Linked DNA regions of Homo sapiens: regions 1 and 3 are each linked to region 2. The links are contacts of gene promoters, found by promoter capture Hi-C in human tissues and cell types (Jung and others, 2019). All regions are on one chromosome and are shown on one strand. Each heading gives the region's core, a stretch centred on a gene start or on the middle of the fragment in contact. The rest is flanking DNA. Distances are from core to core; before and after follow the strand shown. Region 1 overlaps CBFB (core-binding factor subunit beta). Region 2 holds the start of KCTD19 (potassium channel tetramerization domain containing 19). Region 3 overlaps GFOD2 (Gfo/Idh/MocA-like oxidoreductase domain containing 2).

What was found. Contacts are between HindIII fragments. The study calls those that stand out against the background at their distance.
Region 1: a contact is called between a fragment that was not itself captured here and the fragment with the promoter of KCTD19 in region 2, in 2 of the 25 tissues and cell types used here (dorsolateral prefrontal cortex and mesenchymal stem cells).
Region 3: a fragment that was not itself captured here is called in contact with the fragment with the promoter of KCTD19 in region 2 in 1 of the 25 tissues and cell types used here (dorsolateral prefrontal cortex).

Annotation. Positions count from the first base shown.
Region 1 is chr16:67,045,448-67,048,574 of GRCh38, forward strand. The region is part of intron 3 of CBFB (core-binding factor subunit beta); the gene reads left to right. Among named protein-coding and RNA genes, the nearest start is that of CBFB, 18 kb to the left of the region's middle. The HindIII fragment of the contact is 7,078 bases long and covers 1-3,127 here.
Region 2 is chr16:67,324,885-67,328,096 of GRCh38, forward strand. It overlaps KCTD19 (potassium channel tetramerization domain containing 19), which reads right to left and starts at 1,857. Exons shown (of 16, transcript NM_001100915.3): 1 at 1,821-1,857. The coding sequence starts at 1,823. It overlaps LRRC36 (leucine rich repeat containing 36), which reads left to right and starts at 1,931. Exons shown (of 14, transcript NM_018296.6): 1 at 1,931-2,048. The coding sequence starts at 1,979. RefSeq lists an enhancer at 1-68 and a silencer at 1,824-1,973. The HindIII fragment of the contact is 4,520 bases long and covers 1-3,212 here.
Region 3 is chr16:67,683,670-67,686,860 of GRCh38, forward strand. GFOD2 (Gfo/Idh/MocA-like oxidoreductase domain containing 2) reads right to left here. Exons shown (of 3, transcript NM_030819.4): 2 at 1,788-2,133. The coding sequence starts at 2,046. Among named protein-coding and RNA genes, the nearest start is that of C16orf86, 18 kb to the left of the region's middle. RefSeq lists enhancers at 1-1,046, 2,093-2,152. The HindIII fragment of the contact is 6,447 bases long and covers 1-3,191 here.

The sequences.
Region 1 (3,127 bases), core at 74-2,573, 280 kb before region 2:
CGGAGGTTGCAGTGGGCTGAGATTGTACCACAACACTCCAGCCTGGGCAACAGAGCAAGACTCTGTCTGAAAAAAAAAAAATTAAAATGTTTTAAAATTAGTATGTCATAGTACCTTCCAGTTAGAGTACGTGAATCTGCATACATGGTAAATGCACCTCTGAAGCACTTGAAGATTGTGAAGTCCCGTTTTCTCTTCTTTTGGATTGCATTATTTCCATTTTAGTGTAAAGGTGAAATTCTCTTTCATGACCTTTCCTGAATTACATATTCCAAGTGAGAGAAGGCAGAAATAATATGTCTGAGAAGAGCATCCTTCACTCTTCCCCTCCTTCCTTCTACTTTCTACATTTTTTTTTTTTTTTTTGAGACAGTGTCTTGCTCTGTCATCCAGGCTGGAGTGCAGTGATGTAATCTTGGCTCACTGCAACCTCCGCCTCCCAGGTTCAAGCGATTCTCCTGCCTCAGCCTCCCAAGTAGCTGGGATTACAGGCACCCGCCACCACACCTGGCTAATTTTTGTGTTTTTATTGGAGATGGGGTTTCACCATTTTGGCCAGGCTGGTCTCAAACTCCTGACCTCAGGTGATCCGCCTGTCTTGGCCTCCCAAAGTGTTGGGATTATAGGCGCTCTGAGCCACTGTGCCTGGCCTTTTTTGTTGTTGTTTGTTTGTTTTTGAAACTAGATATCTCTCTGTCACCCAGGCTGGAGTGCAGTGGTGTGATCTTGGCTTACTGCAACCTCTGCCTCCTGGGCTCAAGCGATCCTCCCACCTCAGCCTCCCAAGTAGCTGGAACCACAGGCACGCGCCACCATGCCCAGGTAATTTTTTTGTAGATATGGGGGTCTCACCATGTTGCCCAGGCTGGTCTCAAACTCCTGGACTCAAGCAATCCTCTCGCCTTGGCCTCTCAAAGTGCTGGGATTACAGGCATGTACCCATCATTTTTTTTTAATGGTTAATTCAAATGCTGCCAGGATAAAGACTATTGAAATGTTGTTGTCTGAAGATGTTAATTTCTTTGTAGCACTGCTATGCCCTAGTTTTACTATTTCCCATTTTCACTTGTAGTTTTTCAATCAGCATTATTGAGGTATAATTTACATGTAGTACAGTTCACCTATTTTAAGTGTACAAGTCTGTGACAACTGTGTATTCAGTAGTATAACCACCACCAAAGTTCACCATTGCTTCAAAAAGTTCCCTCATGCCCCCTTGCAGGTAGTGTTCTAATTGATGCAGACATACATGCACTGATACTTTTGTGATCCTCATCTTACAGGGAAGAAAACGTTTGTAATTTCTTTTTAACAGCATAAAAATGCTGTTTACCTTCAGGTGCAGAGACTTTGTTTCTTCAATATTATTCTTTGATGCTTAGTTTTGTACAGAGGATTGGAAGCTACAGACAAGCTAAAGTATAATAGTGATATGGTAGACTTTAATTATTGTTCCTTTTTTTATGAAAGTATGCACGTGAACAGTTGGAAAGTATTATCTGTTATAAGCTTTTCAGTTTAAGCTGGGCCTCCTCAAATTGATGTGTGTTTAGGAACTAAGAATTTTAAATAACATTTGAAGGGCCGGGCGCAGTAGCTCATACCTGTAATCCCAGCACTTTAGGAGGCCAAGGCAGGCAGATCACAAGGTCAGGAGTTCAAGACCAGCTTGGCCAACATAGTGAAACCCCGTCTCTACTAAAAAAAAAAAAAAATTAGCCAGGCATAAGCTGAGATCATGCCACTGCACTGTAGCCTGGGCAACACAGCAAGACTCTGTCTCAATAAATAAATACCATTTGAAATGTCTTCAATGCCATGTGTGGAAACTATTTAAAAAAATAAAACGTGCCTCTTGGCAGTATTGCTGTGCTTTCAGGACTCTAATGCAGGCTGTACCTAAGAGGGAAAGGGCTGAGTCTGGGGATGGTTGGCAGGTTGTTTTTGTGGATGAAAAACCTTTTACCCATGTATGCAGTCAGTACTGAGCCTTTTTGTGTTTTAAAACTTCAGATGTAAAGACAGGTTAATCTTCAGATTAAAACAAAAGGATGGCCTAGAAACTTGTGACTTCGACATTTACATTAGAAGAATGTAGATGTTTTCAAATAAACAAATCTGCCCATATCATAGATGTTCAAAGTTTGTTCCATATAATAACAATGATAGTTTCTAATAATCGTGTGGCCCTGTTTGCAGAACAGTGTTCTAAGTAATGAGCCATTTGGGAGAACCCTTTAAATTTTTTTTTTAGGATATTTATTCACACCAGCTTTTTAGTCCTGAGTTTCTATCCATCCCTTTGCTATCCAGAACATTTCTTGGCCATTTTTTTACTGGGTCAGGTGCCGTGGCTCGTGCCTTTGGTCCCAGTGCTCTGGAAGGCCAGGGCGGGTGGATCGCCTGGGGTTAGGAGTTCAAGACTAGCGTGGCCAGCATGGTGAAGCCCCGTCTCTACTAGGAATGCAAAAATTGGCTGGGCATGGTGGTGGGTGCCTCTGGTCCCAGCTGCTCGGGAGGCTAAGGCAGGAGAATCACTTGAACCTGGGAGGCAGAGGGTGCAGTGAGCCAAGATCGCGCCACTGCACTCCAGCCTGGGAACAAAATTCCATCTCAAAAAAAATAAAAATAAAAATGCAGAAATTGGTCAGGCGTGGTGTCGCATGCCTCTGGTTCCAGCTACTTGAGAGAGGCTGGGGTGGGAGAGTTGCTTGGGCCTGGGAGGCAAAGGTTGCAGTGAGCAGAGATCGCACCACGGCACTCCAGCCTGGGTGACAGAGCAAGGCTCCATCTCCAAACAAACAAATAACAAAAAAAACCCCTAAAACATTTTTTATTTTCCTTAAATGTATTGGCCAAGGTTAAAATATCCATCCTGAATATTCTGTATGAAAACATTGGATATGAAGAAAAAAAGAAAATTCAGGCAGTTGACCAGGGGAGAGAATTGAGCTTTTTGGTTCTTCCTGACACATATTCTCAGTGAGACTATACTCACTTTTTTAAAAGCTATTTATAAAATATTAAAATAAGATATTACATGAAGTTAAAAATTGAAACGAAAGTCAGCATCTTAATTCACCAATTACACAACTGAATGGTGTTTTTTGTTTGTTTGTTTGAGACA
Region 2 (3,212 bases), core at 607-3,106:
GAAAAGTCAATCTAATGAGCTAACCTAGAATTCTAAGTCCCAGCCCTTCTAAAAGCCTTTCTACAAGTTCATGTTCAGGCAAAGGCTGAATGTAACAAATGGAGTGACTAAGGGTCTCACATAGACCAGAAAGCATAAATATGCAAGGAAGGACCCTTGATTCTGCTTTCTGTTCTCCTTAAAGGTGGCTGAGAGCTCAATGGGGGTGCTCAGAGTGTGCAGATGTTGGATGCCAAAGAAAACCTACTTCTCGAAGGTGAGCCCCAGTTCTGGTCTCAGTTCCTCTTTTCTTTCTTTCTTTTTTTTCTTTTTTTCTTTTTTTCTTTTTTTTTTTTTTTGAGACGGAGTCTCGCTCTCTAGCCCAGGCTGGAGTGCAGTGGCACGATTTTGGCTCACTGCAAGCTCCACCTCCCGGGTTTACGCCATTCTCCTGCCTCAGCCTCCAGCCTCCTCAAGTAGCTGGGACTACAGGCGCCCGCCACCACGCCCGGCTTTATTTTATTTTATTTTATTTTATTTTGTTTTATTTTTGTATTTTTAGTAGAGATGGGGTTTCACTGTGTTAGCCAGGATGGTCTCGATCTCCTGACCTCGTGATCCACATGCTTCGGCCTCCCAAAGTGCTGGGATTACAGACGTGAGCCACCACGCCCAGCCCACCCTCTTTTCTTGTTAAGGATAGGGTGTGACAAGAGGGTCCTGGCTCCTTCTTACATACATGTCCCATCCACAGGTGGGCTCTTAAGTGCCTGCTGGAGTGAGGGTAGGGGTTAGGGATGCGGCTGTTCTTTCCCAAAGACTACTCAGGGGCTGGTTAGTGCAGAGCTATCGCAGCCTGGCGACAGCCCTCAGTCACAGGCAAGCTTAGGGGAACCTGTGGTGCTTGAAAGACAAAAGGCTTCTTGCCGGACTGACTTCAGGAAACGGGGTAGCCCTAAAGCAGTCATCCCCACCCCATTACAAAGAGCTTCTCTCTTTCCCACGCTGATCCTTCTCCCCCGAAGAAGCTCCGTCCAAGTAAATTTCTTACCTTTTTTTTTTTTTTTTTTTTGAGACAAGGTCTGGCTCTGTCACTCAGGTCGCCCAGGCTGGAGTGCAGTGGTGCAATCTCGGTTCACTGCAACCTCCACCTCCCGGGTTCAAGCGATTCTCCTGCCTCAGCCTCCCGAGTAGCTGGGACTACAGGCCGTGCCACCACACCCGGCTAATTTTTGTATTTTTAGTAGAGATGGGGTTTCACCATGTTGGCCAGGCTGGTCTTGAACTCTTGACCTCAGGTGATCCGCCCACCTCGGGCTCCCAAAGTGCTGGGATTACAGGCGTGAGACACCGCGCCCAGCCCGTCCAAGTCAATTTCTAGAGCTAGAACTTCCTCATGCTCTAAAGACAGGACCCCAACTCCTCAGAGCCAGGATTCCCAACCTTTCAGATCTGGAGCTCCCCATCATGCCTTAGAGTTCTGTCCCCACGCTCCAATCCTTCAGATTTGGATCTCCCCTTCACACACACCCTCGCCTTGCCCCAAAGTCAGCATCCCCCAGCGCTGAGATATGAAGACCACCCCGTCAAAGGGGCACACGCCCAGCCCTCAGAACCGGAGTCCCCCACATCCTCAGAGCCAGAACACTTCATCCCTCAAGACAGAGCGTTATTCTAACTCCTCAGAGCCAGCCCCCCAAATCCTTCCCGGCTGGGGGCCCCTCGCTCTCTCCCATGCCCCAGAGCCAGGTCTCGAACCACTTAGCCCCAATCCTTGGCCACAGCGGCCCCCATTCGCCGCTTTGGTGCTTTTGGCGCCCCCGCCAGAGCGGGCTCCGTACCATGGTCGCGGCTCCAGCAGCGGGCGGGCGGGCTTGTGACCCGGCCAATAACGGTTCCCGGGGTCGCGGCGGCGCGCGCGCGGGGGGCGGGGCAGTGGGCGGGGCCTGGCGTGCGCCGGGTGGTCTCGCGGGCGGTGGCAGGTGAGCGGCGGGCGGGGATGGCGGAGCAATGGGAGCTGGACGAGGAAGGCATTCGCCGCCTGGGGGCGCTGACGCTGGAGCAGCCGGGTAGGGTCTGGCCGGGAGGGTGTGGACTGGGAACGTAGGGTCAGAAGCTGTGGAAAGAAAACTGAAGTGGAAGGCGGGGAACCTGAGATAGAGGCGAGGGAACCACAGAGAAGCGGTACCTGAGGCTGGGGGGCGGGGGGATAACTTGAGGCAGAAGGTTAGAGGGAGGTGGAGGTGGAGGAACTGAAGTAACGGGAGGGTGTGGGGCAGAGCCCGAGGAATTGAGAGAGAAGAGGGGAGTGTGAAGTAGGGAAGGAGAAACAAGGTTAACAGGGGACCCTGCCGCAGGTGACAGAACTGCGGGGGGCGGTGGCTGACCGCTGTAATCCCAGCACTTTGGGAGGCGGAGGCGGGTGGATCACCTGAGCGTGGCCAACATGGTGAAACCCCGTCTCTACTAAAATACAAAAATTAGCCCGGCGTGGTGGTTCAAGTCTATAATCCCAGCTACTCGGGAGGCTGAGGCAGGAGAATCGCTTGAACCCGGGAGGCGGAGGTTGCAGTTAGCCGAGATCGCACCACTGCACTGCAGCCTGGGCGACAGAGCGAGACTCCATCTCAAAAATAATAATAATAAATAAAATAAATAAATAATAAAATGTCTATTAGACATCCAAGTGTAAGGTACCTAGTAGGCAGTTGGATATATGGGTCTGGACCTCAGAGGAGAGGTCAGGGTTAGAGATGAAAATTTTGGAGACATTAGCAATAGGTGGTATTTAAAGCTACGGGAGTGGATGAACTCAGCTAAGGAGAGAATGTCGATGGAGAAGTGAAAGAAAGCTTAAGACTCAACCTTGGAATATTTCAGTGTTTAGAGGTTGTATAGAGGAAGAATGTGGTATCTTGGAATTTGAGAAGGGGTAGTGTATCGAGCAAGCAATGGCCAACTGTGCCAAATGCTATTGACAGGCTGAGCAACTTAAATGCAGAGTGTCTGTTAGATTTAGCAACATGGAACTTACTGGTGACCTTGACAGAGGGAGTTTTGGGAGGGTGGGGAGGAGGGAAACCAGATTGGAGTGGGATGAAAAAGGGAAATGATATTTGAGGGGAAGAGACAGTGAAAGTAAGAACTTTTGCTGAAAATTTTAGCTGTAAAAGAGACTGCAGAAATAGATGGTAGCTGAAGCGTATGATGTGCAGTCAAGAACAGAACAGGAA
Region 3 (3,191 bases), core at 33-2,532, 360 kb after region 2:
CATTTATCCTTCCCTACCCACTGAGCCAGAGGTGACAGACACCTTCCTATGACATTCCTCAGAATGAGGGAGGAGATAAGTAGCAGACCCTGAGGTTTGCCACCATGGCAGTGGTCAGGAAGAGTGGAGGACAACCTCATGGCACCGGTTCCTCGACCTAGAGATCTTCGGCTGCATCAAGGAGACACTTGGCTCCTATTACCTCACATAAAACAGTTACTCAGTCAAGTAAGTATGTGCTAGTTGAATTGTGACTATGTCTTCTGTCATCTACCTTGTAATGTGTGTTATTTCTAGTTGCCTCAATTGGACTATAAAATCTGAAGACAGGGAGGGGTCCAATCTAACACAGCTTTGAATGTCCAAAATGACATCAGGACAGTGACTGGCACACAGGAGGCATTAAAAAAATAATTGAGGCTGGGTGTGGTGGCTCCTGCCTGTAATCCCAGCACTTTGGGAGGCGGCCAAGGCAGGTGGATCACCTGAGGTCAGGAGCCCGAGACCAGCCTGGCCAACATAACAAAACCCCATCTGTACTAAAAAGACAAAAATTAGCTGGGCGTGGTGGCACATGCCTGTAGTCCTGGCTACTTGCAAAGCCGAGGCAGGAGTATCGCTTGAACCTGGGAGGTGGAGGTTGCAGTGAGCTGAGATTGCACCAATGCACACTCCAGCCTGGGCAACAGAGTGAGACTCCATCTAAAAAAATAAAATAAAATAATAATAATAATTTTAAAAAAATGCTGGGCATGGTGGCTCACACCTGTAATCCCAGCACTTTGGGAGGCCGAGGCGGATGGATCACCTGAGGTCAGGAGTTCGAGACCAGCCTGGCCAATGTGGTGAAACCCTGTCTCTACTAAAAATACAAAAATTAGCTGGGTGTGGTGGCAGGCACCTGTAATCCCAGCTACTTGGGAGGCTGAGGCAGGAGAATCACTTGAACCTGGGAGGCGAAGGTTGCAGTGAGCCGGGATTGCGCCATTGAACTCCAGCCTGGGCAACAAGAGGGAAACTCTGTCTCAAAATAAAATAAAAATTGCTGGCTGAATGTTTACTGGTTTGTTTACTTAGTAAACTAGGTTCTGATTTATATTAGATAAAGAGAAGAAGTTGACTCCAGTTGACTGGAAATAGAAGACCAACGGGAACTGTAGGAGAACAGCTCAGCAGGCCATGCCCAGTCAGGGGCAAGAGGTTACCAAGCCCAAAACTTCCCAAGGGAGTGGAGATGTCATGTAAGCAGGCTGTCGACGGATCCTGTCAGGGAAGCCCAATGCTGGCAGAGCCTTCCTGTCCTCCGGCAATACAAGACTGCAGTTTGGCAGGAAGGGTGTGTGCTCACTATAGTCAAACGCTGACAAAACATGGGAAATGGTAGCCTTGCTACACAGCCTCTCCTTCCTGTGGTGCTGTGTGCCCCAGAAATGGGAGAACAAACACACTAGTCACAACCAATTCCCCGCCACCCAGGGCTCTGACCTCTAACTTCACAGAGGCAAACTTTATGTTGACTGAGATGCAACCATCTCCAGCCCCTTGATGGCTGTCTCTTAGAGTATTTCCTTAATTTCTGTTCAGGGATTTACAGATGGGAGGTAGGTTAGGCTATGTCTTTTTTCATGCCCTCCCCAAGCACTGCTTCAGGGACAAGTGATGTCCCAGAGTTCTCCTCCCTGCAGATGCGAGCCCAGGAAGGAGAGCTCAGAGGAGAGGAGTGACCCTCAGAGGACTGCCCAGAGGGAGAGACATGATCTGCCCCTGCTGTGGCCTGCCGGGCGTACCTAGAGCCTTCACGGATATCTGCCGGGTGAGTGGAGGGGGGATGCTGATGCACACCAGATCCACATCTTGATGCAGCAAGATGTCATCAGTCCGGCTGGTGTAGAAGGCGATGTTCATCTCCTCAGCAAGCTGCTTCGCCTCCTCCTCAGTCTTCCCCCACAGGGCCTCAACAGTGAACCCTTCTGCCCTCAGCAGTGGGACCAGAACTCGGGCGGAGCTGCCAGTCCCAAACACGCCCACTCCTGGCAGCATCTTCATCCCAGCCTCTCTCTTTACCAACTCATCTCCTCACAAGAGCCTCTGGCATGGATATGATCTTCCAAACGTCCTGGTCAGACATGGCTCCTAGAATAGCAAACATTACACTGGTTATTACTGGAGAGGACACTCAGCTGAGGCTACTTTCTTTTTTTTTTGAGATGGAGTCTCGCTCTGTTGCCCAAGCTGGAGTGCAGTGGTGCGAAGGCTACTTTCAAATAAGGAAGTAACAAGTTCTCTGCCAGAAAAGCACAAATGAAATAGGGCTCGAGGCCAGGCATGGTGGCTCATGCATGCCTGTAACCCCAGCATTTCAGGAGGCCGAGGTGGGAAGATCACTTGAGGCCAGGAGTTTGAGAGTAGCCTGGGCAACACGGCGAGATGTCATCTCTATTAAAAAATATATATATTAAAAAATAGCCAGATGTGGTGGCATGCGCTTGTTGTAGTCCTAGCTACCTGGGAGGCTGAGGTGAAAGGATCACATGAACCTAGGAGTTCACAACTATAGTAAGCTATGATTGTGCTACTGCACTCCAGCCTGGGCAACAGTGCAAGACCTTGTCTCAAAAGAAAAAAGAAATACTGTTCCAAGATGAAACACTGCAGAATCTTCTTCTTCCATGGAGACTGAAGGATAAGAGGAAAAACGGAAAATGAATAAAGTTGAGTTTAAATCTCTGTTCTGCTACTTAACTTTCTGTGTAACCCTGGTCAAAAGATTCAACTTTCAGGGCCTTAAATGTATAATAAGGGGAGTGATTGATCTTTAAGGTTCCTTCTTGCTATAAAAGTTCATGATTCTATATATGACAAAGAAAAGAAGAGTGGAGGCCAGGCACAGTGGCTCACACCTGTAATCCCAGCACTTTGGGAGGCCAAGGCGGGCGGATCACCTGAGGTAAGGAGTTCAAAACCAGCCGGGTCAACATGGCCAAACCCCATCTCTGCTAAAAATACAAAAAAAAAAACTAGCCAGGTGTGGTGGCAGATGCCTGTAATCCCAGCTCTTCAGGAAGCTGAGGAAGGAGAATCATTTGAACCCAGGAGGCAGAGATTGCAGTGAGCCAAGATCACACCACTGCACTCCAGCCTGGGCGACAAGAGTGAGACTCTATCCAAAAAAGAAAGAAAGAAAGAAAGAC